5 separate regions of the Homo sapiens genome follow, and all the other regions are linked to region 1. Evidence: promoter capture Hi-C in 16 types of primary human blood cells and fetal thymus (Javierre and others, 2016). All regions are on one chromosome and are shown on one strand. Each heading gives the region's core, a stretch centred on a gene start or on the middle of the fragment in contact. The rest is flanking DNA. Distances are from core to core; before and after follow the strand shown.

Region 1 (2,700 bases), core at 118-2,617:
CCGCCTTGGCCTCCCAAAGTGCTGGGAGTACAGACGTGAGCCATTGTGCCCGGCCGGAAACTTCCCTTTTTAAAACCATCAGATCTCTTGAGACTCACTCACTATCACAAGAAGAGTGCAGAAAAGACCTGCCCACATAATTCGATCACCTTCCACCAGGTTCCTCCCACGATGTGGGAATTGTGGGAGTTACGACTCAAGATGAGATTTGGGTGGAGACACAGCCAAACCATATCAGCCAGGTATCTTCACTCCTTGGTATTTACTCTGGGGAACCCAGCAGAGAAAAGGGTGGGGATTTATATACAAGTGTAGTTTATAAAACTTTAGCATGGTAAACAAGATAAGGATCTATCAAAAAGGGCATGGCTAAATACTTTGCGGTACAGGAGTTCCATGGACCACAGGCAATAACTGAAAATCATGCTTCTGAACTATCTTTAATAGGAAAATGCTCAAAATTCAATGTGCTGTTATGGTTACAAAATATTCATAAGGTAAAAAATATTTTGTAGAACATATCATAGAAAAATGACTGGATGGAAGTACAGAAATATTACTATCTCTACGTTACATATATATGTATTACTATTTGCTATCTTTAGGTGGAGGGAGTCTGAGTAGTATAAAGTTTTTTTTACTTCTCTTACATCAAGATTTGTTACATTAAATTTATATTCAAATCACAATAAGGGCCTGATGCAGTGGCTCACGCCTGTAATCCCAGAACTTTGGGAGGCCAAGGCAGGCGGATGCCCTGAGGTCAGGAGTTGGAGACTGGCCAGGCCAACAAGGTGAAACCCCGTCTCTACTAAAAATACAAAAATTAGCCGGGCATGGTAGCACGCGCCTGTAATCCCAGTTACTTGGGTGGCTGAGGCAGAAGAATCGCTTGAACCCGGGAGGCGGAGGTTGCAGTGACTCAGGATCGCGCCACTGCACTCCAGCCTAGGCGACAGAGCGAGACTCCGTCTCAAAAAAAAAAAAAAATAAGAAGAACAGTAAATCATCAAAAAAATAAACCCAATGACAACCACAGAAAGAGCCTTGCAAGCCCTCTTGGGAGGAATGACTGGGAGAACACCAGGTACCCGCCCTGATGAAGACGCCGCAGCAACTACAGTCTTCCCCGATTGGCAGCAGCCCGAGTTGGGGGGTGGGGGGGGGTGGGACTTTGTGCATCACTTCCGGGGGCGGGGCAGCGGTCGTCTCCGCACGCGCGGGAGCGGTCGGTATCCATGGCAACCAGCGGGGCCAGCCTAAGGCCCGCCCGCCACCGCCACCGCGCCGGCCCCGCCCGCACAAAGGCCGCGCGGTGACCCGCCCTCTGCCGCGACCCCGGCCCCGCCCCTGCCCCGGCCCCGGCCTGGCCCGGTCCCTGCACCTGCCGGAGGCCGCCCGCCGCCATCGCCAGCGCCGTCGCTTGGCTGCGCTGACCGGGAAGCAGTTCTCGGCGGTCCGCGCGGTGATTCATCGGCCTGGCCGCGTCCCCCGCGCGGGCCATCTTGGTCACGGCCGGCGGCGGACAGAGCCGCGGAGGAACCGCGAGACCCCAGGTACGCGTGCCCCCGGCCCCCTGCCCGGCCGGGCCCCGCCACTGTGGTGGCCCCCAGGCCCGCGGCCGCCAAGGAGCAGCCCCCTTTGTTCTCCCCCGGGCGGGCGCGGGGCGGGCGCCGCGGGGCTTTGTGCAGCCTCGCCACCCACGCGCGGGCCCTCCACGCCGCCCCTCACCCTCCTGCCCGCTAGTCGCAACTGAAACCTTGAAAACATCTTTTCTTAATCCTCCAGGGCCCAGAGCAGGTCCAGCCACCCGTCTGGCTCCGTAGTCCGCGAAGTCTGCAGTAAAGGAGCCGCGTGGGACCGGGGCCGAAGTCCCTAGGGCCTGGCACCGCGTGCCCCTCTCTCGGGCCCTCGGCTTGGGGGTCTCGCAGCGCCCTGCCGTCGTGCACCCCACACTGCCCCCATTTCTACAGGGGCCCACCTGGTCACCACACCCTCTTGGTCCACCCGCGGATCTCAGCGTGTGGCTGACCTCTGGCCAGCATGGTGCAGCCGCAGACGTCCAAAGCTGAAAGCCCAGCCTTGGCAGCGTCTCCGAATGCCCAGATGGATGACGTTATTGACACCCTGACCTCCCTGCGCCTCACCAACTCGGCGCTGAGGCGGGAGGCTTCCACCCTGCGGGCGGAGAAGGCCAATCTCACCAACATGCTGGAGAGCGTGATGGCAGAGCTGACCTTGTTACGCACCAGGGCGCGGATCCCGGGGGCTCTGCAGATCACCCCGCCCATCTCCTCAATTACTTCAAACGGGACTCGACCCATGACCACACCTCCAACCTCTCTGCCCGAGCCCTTTTCCGGGGACCCAGGCCGGTTGGCGGGGTTCCTGATGCAGATGGACAGATTCATGATCTTCCAGGCCTCCCGCTTCCCGGGTGAGGCCGAGCGTGTGGCCTTCCTTGTGTCTCGACTGACTGGGGAGGCGGAGAAGTGGGCTATCCCCCACATGCAACCTGACAGCCCCTTGCGCAACAACTATCAGGGGTTCCTGGCAGAGTTGCGGAGAACCTACAAGTCTCCGCTCCGGCATGCGCGGCGCGCCCAAATCAGGAAGACTTCTGCCTCTAATAGGGCTGTGCGAGAGAGGCAGATGCTCTGCCGCCAGCTGGCCTCTGCGGGCACGGGGCCTTGCCCAGTG
Region 2 (2,700 bases), core at 119-2,618, 490 kb after region 1:
CAACCTGGCCAACATGTGAAACCCCATCTCTACTAAAATACAAAAATCAGTTGGGCGTGGTGATGCGCGCCTGTAATCCCAGCTACTCGGAGGCGGGCGGGGGTGCTAAGGCAGGAGAATTGCTTGAACCTGGGAGGCGGAGGTTGCAGTGAGCCGAGATCATGCAACTGTGCTCCAGCCTGGGTGACAGAGCAAGACTCTGTCTCAAAAACAAAACAACAACAACAACAAAAAAAACCTGTCTCTAAAGGTAGAAACAACCCAAACGTCCACTGACACATGAAGGGATAAAGAAAATGTGGTGTATGCATGCGTATATACATGAAATTCTGACTCAGCCTACAACGCAGATGAACTTTGAGGACATGATGCTAGTGTGATATGCCAGTCACAAAAGGACACATACTGTATGATCCTGCTTAGATGAGGCACCTAGAGGAGTCAAATTAATAGCGACAGGAAGTAGAACAGTGGCTGCAGGGGCTGGGAAGGACCGAATTGGGAGTGAGTGCCTAATGGGTGCAGGTTCAGCTTCGGAATGAAAGAGTTCTGGAGATGGGTGGTGGTGATGGTTGCTCAACAGTGTAAATGGATTTAAGCCACGGAACTGTAGACCTCAAATGGTACATTTTATGTGCATTTTACCAAAAAAAAACTTTTTTAAAGCCTGTTGTCAAACCCACATAAATCAGGGCCTAAAACTAAAGGTAATTCAAAGTCTTGCCTTGGGGGATTGGAAAAGCCTCTAAAACTTTCTCGTGGAGAAGAGGAATCTACAGGAAGGAAGGAGATGGAGACTTCCCGCTGAGGAGCGCAGGAGGGAAGAAATGAGTCCAGAGGCTCCCAGAGGCAGAAGAGGGTGAACAGAGAGCCCGACCTTGGGAAAGAGAATAAAGGATGCTCTGGCCATGACCCACGACTGGAAATTCACATGAATCTCTGGCCTCCAGCGTGGGAGTGCAGAGCCTGATGCAGGCCCCATGCTAAACTGCAAAGCAGCACGGGAAAGGATGGGCTTCTCGGAGGAGACTCCACTCCCCCCAGCCCACCTTCCTCCCATAGGCGGAGCTGGGCACCCCCTCCCCATCTTTCCTGGGTACCCCCTGCTGACCTGTTCTTCCCCACTAGACCTGAAGTGTCATCTCCGCCCGCTGTACCCGCAAACGCAGCCTCGCACACACTAAGAGCTTGATCGCTGTCCCCCAAACGGTTGAATGAACGGAAGGTAGTGGCCACTGACAGTAGGTGGATGGTAACCATTGTGAAGCTTCCTATGGGTCCCTGGGATCTTTGTGCCTTTTGCATCCGCGCAGCAGAACTCACATGGATGGGAGCAGCTGATCTGGGGCTCCCCTCCTGCACTTGCCCAGGTGAAAGATTCAGCGATGAAGGTGATTTGCCCTCACACGGGGCATGACAGGGGGAGGTACTGCACACAAATAGAAGGAAATGTTAGGTAACAAAGCTTTGCTGTTACTAGCTTTCTGGCTGCCTGTCCAGGAGATCCTGCCACGTGGCAGGTGGGAGCTGAGTTACCTATGAGAGGAGAGGGCTGAAGGTATGGAAGTGTGCTGAGTTCAAACCTAGAGGGTGCTCCTCAATCCTGACTGCACACACAGGCCACCTGGGAATCTTGCAAAACCACAGGGTGGGCTGGGCAGGGCCTGGAACTCTGCATTTCTTTTTCTTTTTTTCTTTTCCGAGATGTAGTCTCGCTCTGTCACCAGGCTGTAGTGCAGTGGCACGATCTCGGCTCACTGCAACCTCTGCCTTCTGGGCTCAAGTGATTCCCCTGCCTCAGCCTCCCAAGTAGCTGGGACTACAGGCGCATGCCACCACGCCCGACTGATTTTCTGTATTTTAGTTAGAGACAGCGTTTCACTATTTTGGTTAGGATGGTCTCAATCTCCTGACCCCGTGATCTGCCCACCTTGGCCTCCCAAAGTGCTGGGATTACAGGCATGAGACACGGCATCTGGCCAGGACTCTGCATTTCTAATGTATCGTCAGATTCCTGCACTACACTTGGAGTGGCGTAAGATGCTAGGATATACACTATTGAAAGCATTCCATGGGCCTGGTGTGGTGCCTTGTGCCTGTAATCCCAGAGGGTTGGGAGGCTGAGGCTGAGGCAGGAGCATCACTTGAGCCCAGAAGTTCAAGACCATCCTGGGAAACATAGCAAGACCCTGCCTCTATAAAAAATACTTTTAAAATAGCTGGGCATGGTGGCATGCGCCTGTGGTCCCAGCTATTCCAGAGACTGAGGTGGGAGGATCCCTTGAGCCAGGGAGTTGAGACTGCAGTGAGCTATGATAGCGCTGTTACCAGTGGAGGGTCTTGATTATGAGTCTTGGCGTTTTGAACAAAGAATTGGGCAAAACGCACAAACAAAGAAACAATAGAATGAAGCAACGGAAGCACAGATATATTGAAACAGAAGTACACTCCTCAAAGTGGGAGCAGGCTCTAGCAGTGGCTGAGAGCCCTGGTTACAGAATTGTCTGGGGTTTAAATACCCTCTAGGTTGTTACTTGATTACAACCGATGTAAATGAAGAAGTGGCCTGCGACCAGTCTGATTGGTTGTGGGAGGGGACCAATCAGAGGAACTTCCCATTTTTCATCTGCCATGCAGTGGAAAGGTGGGAGGGTTGAGTAGCCTCTGATCCTTTCGTTACTTGGGTGTGGAGAGGTGGGG
Region 3 (2,700 bases), core at 2-2,501, 510 kb after region 1:
GTAAAACCCTGTCTCTACAAAAAATACAAAAATTAGCCTGGTGTGTAGTCCCAGCTACTTGGGAGGCTGAGGCAGGGGGATCACTTGAGCCCAGGAGGTCAAGGCTGCAGTGAGCCATGGTCAGGCCATTGTACTCCAGCTGGGTGACAGAGAAAGACCGAGTCTCAAAAAAAAAAAAAAAAAAAAATGCCGGGCGTGGTGGCTCATGCCTATAATCCCAGCACTTTGGGAGGCTGAGGCAGGCAGATCACGAGGTCAGGAGTTTGACACCACCCTGACCAACATGGTGAAACCCTGTCTCTACTAAATATACAAAAAATTAGCCGGGTGTGGTGACGCATGCCTGTAATCCCAACTACTCAGGAGGCTGAGGCAGGAGAATCTCTTGAACCTGGGAGGCAGAGGTTGCAGTGAGCCAAGATCGTGCTATTGCACACCAGCCTGGGCGACAGAATGAGAGTCTGTCTCAAAAAAAAAAAAAATTTTACACAATGCATGTAAGAAATAGAATTTGTTTATATAACTGTGTAACTAGCCCTATACCATATTCACCCATGTAACATTTAGGGAATCTTTCCTCAATAAAATAAGGGGTGAAGAAAAGCCAAGAAGGTGGGTTCCTCTGCTGTAGAGAGAGGGGTTCTCAAGATCGTGTCCTCTGTGGTCAGGAACAAAGCTTCACTCACCCCAACTTTCCTAGAGACCCTGGCCTGCAAAGTCAACTGCTCAAAACACTGCCTTCTGTTTTCAGCACACAGGAACCAAATCACCTGTCAATTCCTCCAGCCAGACCCTGGCAGGGGCTCCCACTACCCTGGGAACAATAAGCACAAAGCACCTGAGGGAGGGGGTGGGAACGCTTCACACCTGCTCCTCCCAGCTAGATGGAGAAAAACGCAAAGGAGGAAAATACATGTGTTTTCATTATTTTGCAACTATTTAATTCTCTTAAAATCTTCAAGCTTAAAAGCCACTAATGAAATTAACCACGTCCAAAACAAAATAAAATTACTGGAGAGTGGGATGTGATTGTGGAAAATAATTCCCAACACGTACCTGTCGCCTGTCTGTACTCCCATGGGGACGCAGTAATTAAGTTCCAACCGAGCGATGTTGCCAAGCCTGAGGACAATCCCGGCCCCGTACGACCAGCGGATGCACTCAGCCAGCTTACGAATATGAGCTTTGGGGCCCTCCCCTGAAAAGAGAAAGACCTGTGAGCAACAGTGCGTGCCCGTCCTTCCAAGCTCTCCCAGCTCTCCCAGACAAGCCCTGGCTCCCCCTGGCTGGGCCCTGCAGTTGTTTTTAAAGCCAGGCCTAGAGATTAGGGAGGATGCATGAAGTGAGATTAGGACCCAGGTCAAGAGAGGACTTGGAGCCACACTTACTCACATCCAGAATGAGCCACGCCTTCTCAATTCTTTGGGCCTGGCATATTCTGTTCCCTCTGCTTAGAATGACTTTTCCCCATCCCCTGACCACCTGGGAAGCCCCACTCTGAGTCTCAGCTTGGAGACTTCCATGCCTTCTAGGAAGCTTTCCAGGCACCCCTAGCACCCAGGCATCTGCTGGGAGTCTCTTCTGGACCTGAACTCCCTGAGGAAGGCACCCAATCCTACTCAGCTCTGTGGCCATCATGACTTGTTTATTAAATAGACAAACAGATTTTTCTTCGTAAGGGCATTAGATGATTATTTTTCTTGTATGCTTCATTCGCTCAACCAACCACTTAATGCTGGGCATTATGTTAGCTGTTGTAAGAATTTTTTTCAAGTAAGGCACAGTCTCTAACTTTAATGACTATGTAATCTAAAAAGACAGACATGGCCTGGCACGGTGGCTCACACCTGTAATCCCAGCACTTTGGGAATCCAAGGGGGGTGTGGATCACGAGGTCAAGAGATCGAGACCATCCTGGCCAACATGGTGAAATCTCGTCTCTACTAAAAATACAAAAAATTAGCCGGGCGTGATGGCACGCGCCTGTAGTCCCAGCTACTCGGGAGGCTGAGGCAAGAGAGTCACTTGAACCCAGAAGGTGGAGGTTGCAGTGAGCCGAGATTGCGCCACTGCACTCCAGCCTGGCAATAGAGCGAGACTCCATCTCAAAAAAAAAAAAAAAAGACAGACACCTCTTTGTGTACTGTGCTTTTAAACATGAAAACAACTGTACTACAATGGTTTCTTGAATAGCGCAAGTTTTACCATAGTTGAGGTTGCAGAGGTTTCCTGCGTTGAGAAAGAAGTGTGTTCGGAAAAGTTCTCCAAAGCCACCCTGGCCTGGCCGGAAAGGTAATGGGGTGTAGAGGTGCAGGCCGCCGGCCCAGTACGCTTCTCCACCTAGGTAGTCTCCTAAGCAAAGGAGGGGTGCAGAACAAAAACAAGGTCCGACAAGGTTAACATCACGTTAACTTTCCACAACTTACAGAAGCAAGATTTCTGTCCTGTAAACAACGCCACACAGTGCTGGAGTTTGCAAGCAGCTGTTCTTCTCATTCCTGATACTGATGGCCTCATTTTAAATAATCTTTCTTTTTCTCCTGGTTTGTTTCACACCTTGATTTAACTGAGGAGGCAAACAAAGCCAATGTCGTTGAGGAAGGAATGCACTCTGTCATTCATCGTATCTGTGAAATGCTTTGAAGAAATGAGTCTCATGACAATAACTTTATCCACAAATGTAGATGACCAACTCACTTC
Region 4 (2,746 bases), core at 1-2,500, 320 kb after region 1:
TTCACCTGGAGACGGAGGGGTTGGCTGAAGTTCAGAGGCGGCAACTCCTCAGTAGAACAGGGAGGGAGGACGCCGAGCAGCCTCTGAGCAGGGGCAGCCGGAGGGGCCGTGGGGACTCAAGGTCCCACTTTACCGACTCCCTTCCCCGGGTGGCCTGGGCTGGGACTGCACTCTGGGATCCTTCCCAGGTGGTGTCTGGGCCCCTCCCTCCGTGACCCCCAACACTCAAGTATGGTGGCCCCGATGCCAGAACTCACCCAACCGCTTTCCACGCAGGAAAACAAAGGCCTACTGAGTGCAAAGGGTGGTCCCTGGATTCCGAATGGAAGCAAGTTCCGGGTTCTTCTGGGGTCTTCGGGGACCAGGCCGGGAGGCAGGAGCCCCGCTGCTCACTTCCTCCAGGCCCGCTCAGCCGGCAGGAGCTTCCTCCTCTCTGCGGCAGGGCCCGAGGGGGGTGGATGCCGTGAAAGTGAAGCTGCCACAAACCTCCAGAAAGCTCTGCCCGGAGCCCCAGCGCCCGCCGTGCCGCCTGGGCCCCCGGGGTTCTGCAGGCCACTTAAACTCAATGCTTTCATTTCTCCCCCTCTCCCCGCCTTCCCCAAACCATGCCAGTTTCCCCGCAGGCTGTTCACCTCCAAAATGGCAGCTACATAGGCCAGAGCCTGGGGTCGACCCCCGCAACCCACCACCAGCACCCTGTCAGCCTGGCCTCCACCCTCCATCCCGCACCGCCGTCCTCCCACCTCCACACCCCGCCCCGGGCCAGGCCCCTTCCTCTCCCGGGACCACGCAGGAGACTCCTACCTGGACTCTCGGCTGCAGACTTCCCCACGCCCCCTGCCCGCCCCTGAGCTGAGGCTCCCACAAGCCCTCGGAGGAGTGAGTCACTTCCTGACCCCACTCACTCAAACCCACCAACGGCACCCAATAGCTCTTAAAATAAAATCCAGGCTGTGCGTGGTCTGTCTCTCTCAATCGCGGTTACATACCCGTGTCTAGAACAATGCTTGGCACAAAGTGGGCTCAGTGAATAAATATTGGTGGTGGTTGTTGCCAAGGGGATCGGGAAGGCTTTCCAGAGGAGAATGGGGCCTTGACGGCTGCATAGGAGTTTGCAGTGGAAGAAGAAGGGGTGAGAACGTGGCAGGTGGAGAAAACAGCGTATGCAAAGGCATAGCAGGGTTCGAGAAGGAGAGATCTCAGCACAGTAGATAGAGAAACACTTCAGACCCGAGCTGGTCTCTCAAGCTGGAATCTTCACCATCCGGGCTGAAATGGTGAGTTTCCCTAGCAACAGGTGACTGGGAAGCTATCTACCCTTTCTGACAGGTTAGGCAGAAAGTGGCTAAATCAGGTGGGATGCAGGTGTAAGGAGTGTGTGAGAGCAGGAAAGTAGGGTCGTTTACAAGAAGTTAATAAAAAATGACAAAACTTAGTACTGGTATTGTTGCTAATATTTATGGAGTCATTGGTGATGAAACAAACATAATTTTAAGGGCTTTCATTTTACTGGAAACTTCCTTGTGAGGTAGGTACAATCATCACCCCCATATTACAGAGGAAGACACTGAGGCACATGAGTCAGTCCCTGCCATTCTGAAGTGCCCGTGCTAGACTGGGGCTTGTAACAGGTGGGGAGAGAAGCCACCGTGCAGGACCTATTTTGCTGGGGCGTGTGTAGCAGGCTCAGCCCAGCTCTGGACACAGTGGTTCTGGTGGTGGCTTCTGACTCTGGATCACAGCCACATAGATGTAGCAGCAGTCACAGTCCCAGCAGCAAAGAGACGGTATATTCCCATGTGCTAACTGAAGACTGTTTAATAAAGGGACAGCTGGGGCAGGGTTAAAGGAACCCAGAAGAGACAGTGCTACACCCCAGGCTAGCAACATGGGGAGCTGTTACTTCTTCAAAACCTAGAGGGTGAAGGAGGGAGTGGGTGGCAGAGCCCAGGAACAGAATCACTGAAGCTCTAAGAGGGGCCTCGGGATAGGAGCTGTGGCCTTTGGTAGAGGGACACAGCCAGCTCATGGTGAACCAGCAGAAGGGCACAGCTGGAGGAATCAATGACCAAGCCTCACTCTCCTCCCTCCTGCCAGGGCCTCCCCTGCCCACATCCAGCCAGAAGCCAGAGAAAAGAAGTCCCCTGCTGCGGCCCATAGATGTGAGGAGAGAAAATGGTGGGGAGTGGATCTGCAGAGGTGAACCTAAAGCATTCAACCCAGAAAGCATGCTTCTAGGGCCAGCCTGACTCGGCAGCTTCCTTCAGGAGCCAGCTCTGCAGTATTCTTCCAAGAGTCCTTGCTGGAGGCGCTGCCTCCAGCCTTCCAACAGCTTGAGAATCACACAGCTTCCTATGTTAGATTCCTTTCTCCTCCAAACAACTGAAGAGACTCTAATCATCGGCAACTGAATCCCAATTAACTTCGGATTTGTTACCAGAAACAATTGCAGGCAACACGACCTCCAGGATGGGAACTGGGATTGGTTACTTGTTCTGGTTGATTTAAAGGCAGTGGGGACCTAGTAACTGTTAGAGAATGGAGTTCTAATAGATCGTAGCCTGTGATGGCAAAATAATTACCTGTCATCACTCAGAACGAAGTACCTATTAAATTGTGGCTTTGGCAGAGTTGTGGCTTCCATACGCAATACGAGCACAGGTTATCTAAGGACTGTGGGGTGAGCTTGTTATCATCACACCAAAGAGTTTAAAGCAAGAAAAGGACAGTCCCAGGGCTTTACATT
Region 5 (2,700 bases), core at 167-2,666, 420 kb after region 1:
ACAGCTGCAGTTACCATGCTTCCACACTCATCGTCTGATGAGGCCATTCCAGGCCACTTCTGTAGGTCATATCTCTGCCCCTCTGCTCGACTGTCCCCACAACCTGCAATGCCCTTCACTTCAGGTCAGCTAGCTCCACCCATTTCCCACCGTCTGGAAAGCACACTCTGCACATCCTCTATCCCTGGGTGCAGTTCGGGCCCCTCCTCTGGGTTTCCACAGCTCCCCGTGCACATGACAATGACAAACCCTATTCCCCGATCATGTGATTGTGGACTGTGCTCATCTCCCTGCACCCCCCGACCCCGCAAGGAGTGCACAGGGGCCAGGTCCCATTCATGACCATGGCCTCACATCCTGCATAAAACCCAGCACATGGATAACTGCTCTCTGAATATCTGTGGAATGAATGAATGAATGAACACAAATGCTAAGCTTATGTAGGCCAAATGGAGCTACATAGATAATTTCTACAAGAGAAAGTCAGGGAACTGAACTGACGGCTCTCACACAGCATCCCACCTCCAGCCACTTAATTGGGTGGAAAAAGAGGGTTTCCATTAAGGTTTACATTAGCCTGGCAGTCGTGTTTCACAAGGAACCCAATTACCCTGATGTGGCCACGTAGAGGCTGATGGGCTCAGGAGGAAGGAGTCCGCTCCGCAATTAGGGACTTGCTAGTACAAGCAGCCCAGGAGCCAACATCCCCCCAGCCTCACCTCCTGGGGTGTGCATTCCGACCAGCCACCTGCTGCAGGAATCTGAAATACAGACCACCCCGAGATGGAAGGAGTCCATCTGGCTCAGGGAAACTGGGTCTTCTGAATACGAAAAGTTGCTTACATAGAAATGTAAAAAAAGCTCCGAAGCCCATGTTAAACAGATGATTCCCTTGGCCCAGAAACACGGTCTTTTCTTCCCCTTTGTCCCTGGGGTGATCAGGAAAATGTTAGAACCACAGAAAAATGAATCCTTTGTGGGAAGGAGAACAGGAAGAAAGACTTCCAGGTGCACGGTAAAATGTCAGGTTGGCCGTCTAACCCACCTGGGCGAGAAACCGGGGCATGGAGGGGCCGGTGAGCTTCTTGTCTACAAAGGAGGACACATTCTTTAGAGACAATGATGATCTGATTGGTTTCTCAGACTGAAAGCCACATGAGTCAGTTTTTGTTTTTTGTTTTTTGTTTTTGTTTTTGTTTTTGAGACGGACTCTTGCTCTGTCGCCCAGGCTGGAGTGCAGTGGCTCGATCTTGGCTCACTGCAACCTCCACCTCCCAGATTCAAGCGATTCTCCTGCCTCAGCCTCCTGAGTAGCTGGGATTACAAGTGTGCACCACCACACCCAGCTAATTTTTGTATTTTTAGTACAGATGAGGTTTCACTATGTTGGCCAGGTGGATCTCGAACTCCTGATTTCAAGTGATCCACCTGCCTCGGCCTCCCAAAGTGCTGGGATTACAGGCACGAACCACCGCACCTGGCCAACTTCTTTAATTCCTCCCTTCAATTGCCACCCTTCCGGAGCACGGGAACCTACCGCCCAGTGCCCCCACCTTGCGGTGCACAGTGGGATACACATCCCCAAAGCCAGCCTCCCCCGCCCCAAAAAAGAGCTACCCCATTTGCCTCCCGTTTTCTCGGCCCCTCACCCTCAGCTCCAGTGCCCAGCAGCCACTGCCTCCTGACCACTCTCATCCTAATTCCTTAGCAAGTCCTTCGACGCAAGCCTCTGCCTCTGTGATTTTCAGAGGCTGCGTCTGTCACATTTCTCCAACCCATCACGCTGGCTTTCAGGGGGTACTTCCAAATGATTTCAGTCACTGGTCATGAAATCTGTCATTAGCTAATAATAAGAAGAAAAGAGCCTCGAGGCAGCAGAAGGTGGGGGCAGGGTGTGAAACCCAAAAGAAACAATTCTCAGAAGAGGATGCCAACCTTTCCCCTGGCGTGTGTCACCGTCACCGCCCCTCCGAGCCCAGCCACTTGCCAGCAAGCTGCACAATGAGCCCCACCGAGGCGGGGGGCAATGGAACCCGCTGCTCACTTCCAGCAACAGACGAGCCCCATGAGACTGCCAGGCTCTTAGAGAAACGCACTTCATAAAGGAAAGCAGAAACGGCCGTGCAGAAGCTAAGTCTGGAGAAGCACGTTCGCTGGTTCCCAAGTTGTGAAACTCGTATTAATTAATGTGACTGGTAACGTCCCAATGTATCCAGGGAAGTCCAAAGCGTTGTCTGCTGAGAAAATAAGAAGATTAAATCATTAAGTCGTTAGAAAAAGAAAGGCTTTACTATGCACCTGCCATGGAAACGGGGATGTGGGAAAGGCCAGAAGGACAGTGCCCTCTAGCGGCTGTCTCCCCTGCAGAAGTGACACAGATGCCTCCATGAAAGCTTCCCCCAACAGGAGGACCCGGCCTGCTTCGGAGACAGGCCCCTTCCAAAAGCAGGTGGATTTGGGGAGTGCTGGAAGCCATTGGCCTCTGGTGCTGGCAGCTCAGTTCCCACCTGAGATACTCAAAGAACCACCATGGCACTGCCTTGGGCCCCACCGGGCACAGACAACTCTACCCATCAGGAACAGATGCAATGCCCACAGCAGAAAAGGAGAAAGGCCTTCACGGCCCACAGGGGTCCCCACACCCCTGCTGGAGACTGCACCTTTGGAGGAACAGCCCCAAACAAGGGATGGAGGGATGAC

The links. The method cuts DNA at HindIII sites, captures the fragments that hold promoters and counts their contacts. A CHiCAGO score of 5 or more calls a contact.
Region 2: a contact is called between a fragment that was not itself captured here and the fragment with the promoter of RTL6 in region 1, in 2 of 17 cell types (total CD4 T cells and naive CD8 T cells). The highest score is 5.9, in total CD4 T cells.
Region 3: a fragment that was not itself captured here is called in contact with the fragment with the promoter of RTL6 in region 1 in 1 of 17 cell types (total CD8 T cells); the score reaches 5.2 in total CD8 T cells.
Region 4: the fragment with the promoter of PARVG here is called in contact with the fragment with the promoter of RTL6 in region 1 in 2 of 17 cell types (monocytes and total CD8 T cells); the score reaches 5.8 in monocytes.
Region 5: a fragment that was not itself captured here is called in contact with the fragment with the promoter of RTL6 in region 1 in 1 of 17 cell types (naive CD8 T cells); the score reaches 5.8 in naive CD8 T cells.

What each region holds. Positions count from the first base shown.
Region 1 is chr22:44,496,900-44,499,599 of GRCh38, reverse strand. RTL6 (retrotransposon Gag like 6) reads left to right here and starts at 1,367. Exons shown (of 2, transcript NM_032287.3): 1 at 1,367-1,556; 2 at 1,789-2,700. The coding sequence starts at 2,044. RefSeq lists silencers at 1,157-1,216, 1,307-1,436 and an enhancer at 2,696-2,700. The HindIII fragment of the contact is 14,128 bases long and covers 1-2,700 here.
Region 2 is chr22:44,005,625-44,008,324 of GRCh38, reverse strand. It overlaps a transcript of PARVB not described here. Among named protein-coding and RNA genes, the nearest start is that of PARVB, 17 kb to the left of the region's middle. The HindIII fragment of the contact is 198 bases long and covers 1,270-1,467 here.
Region 3 is chr22:43,988,763-43,991,462 of GRCh38, reverse strand. SAMM50 (SAMM50 sorting and assembly machinery component) reads right to left here. Exons shown (of 15, transcript NM_015380.5): 13 at 2,206-2,352; 14 at 1,057-1,198. Among named protein-coding and RNA genes, the nearest start is that of PARVB, 34 kb to the left of the region's middle. The HindIII fragment of the contact is 574 bases long and covers 965-1,538 here.
Region 4 is chr22:44,179,429-44,182,174 of GRCh38, reverse strand. PARVG (parvin gamma) reads right to left here and starts at 1,250. Exons shown (of 14, transcript NM_022141.7): 1 at 990-1,250; 2 at 258-433. RefSeq lists enhancers at 1-532, 533-1,263 and silencers at 640-769, 1,940-1,989. The HindIII fragment of the contact is 15,489 bases long and covers 1-2,746 here.
Region 5 is chr22:44,081,020-44,083,719 of GRCh38, reverse strand. The region is part of intron 1 of PARVB (parvin beta); the gene reads right to left. Among named protein-coding and RNA genes, the nearest start is that of PARVB, 58 kb to the right of the region's middle. The HindIII fragment of the contact is 1,958 bases long and covers 438-2,395 here.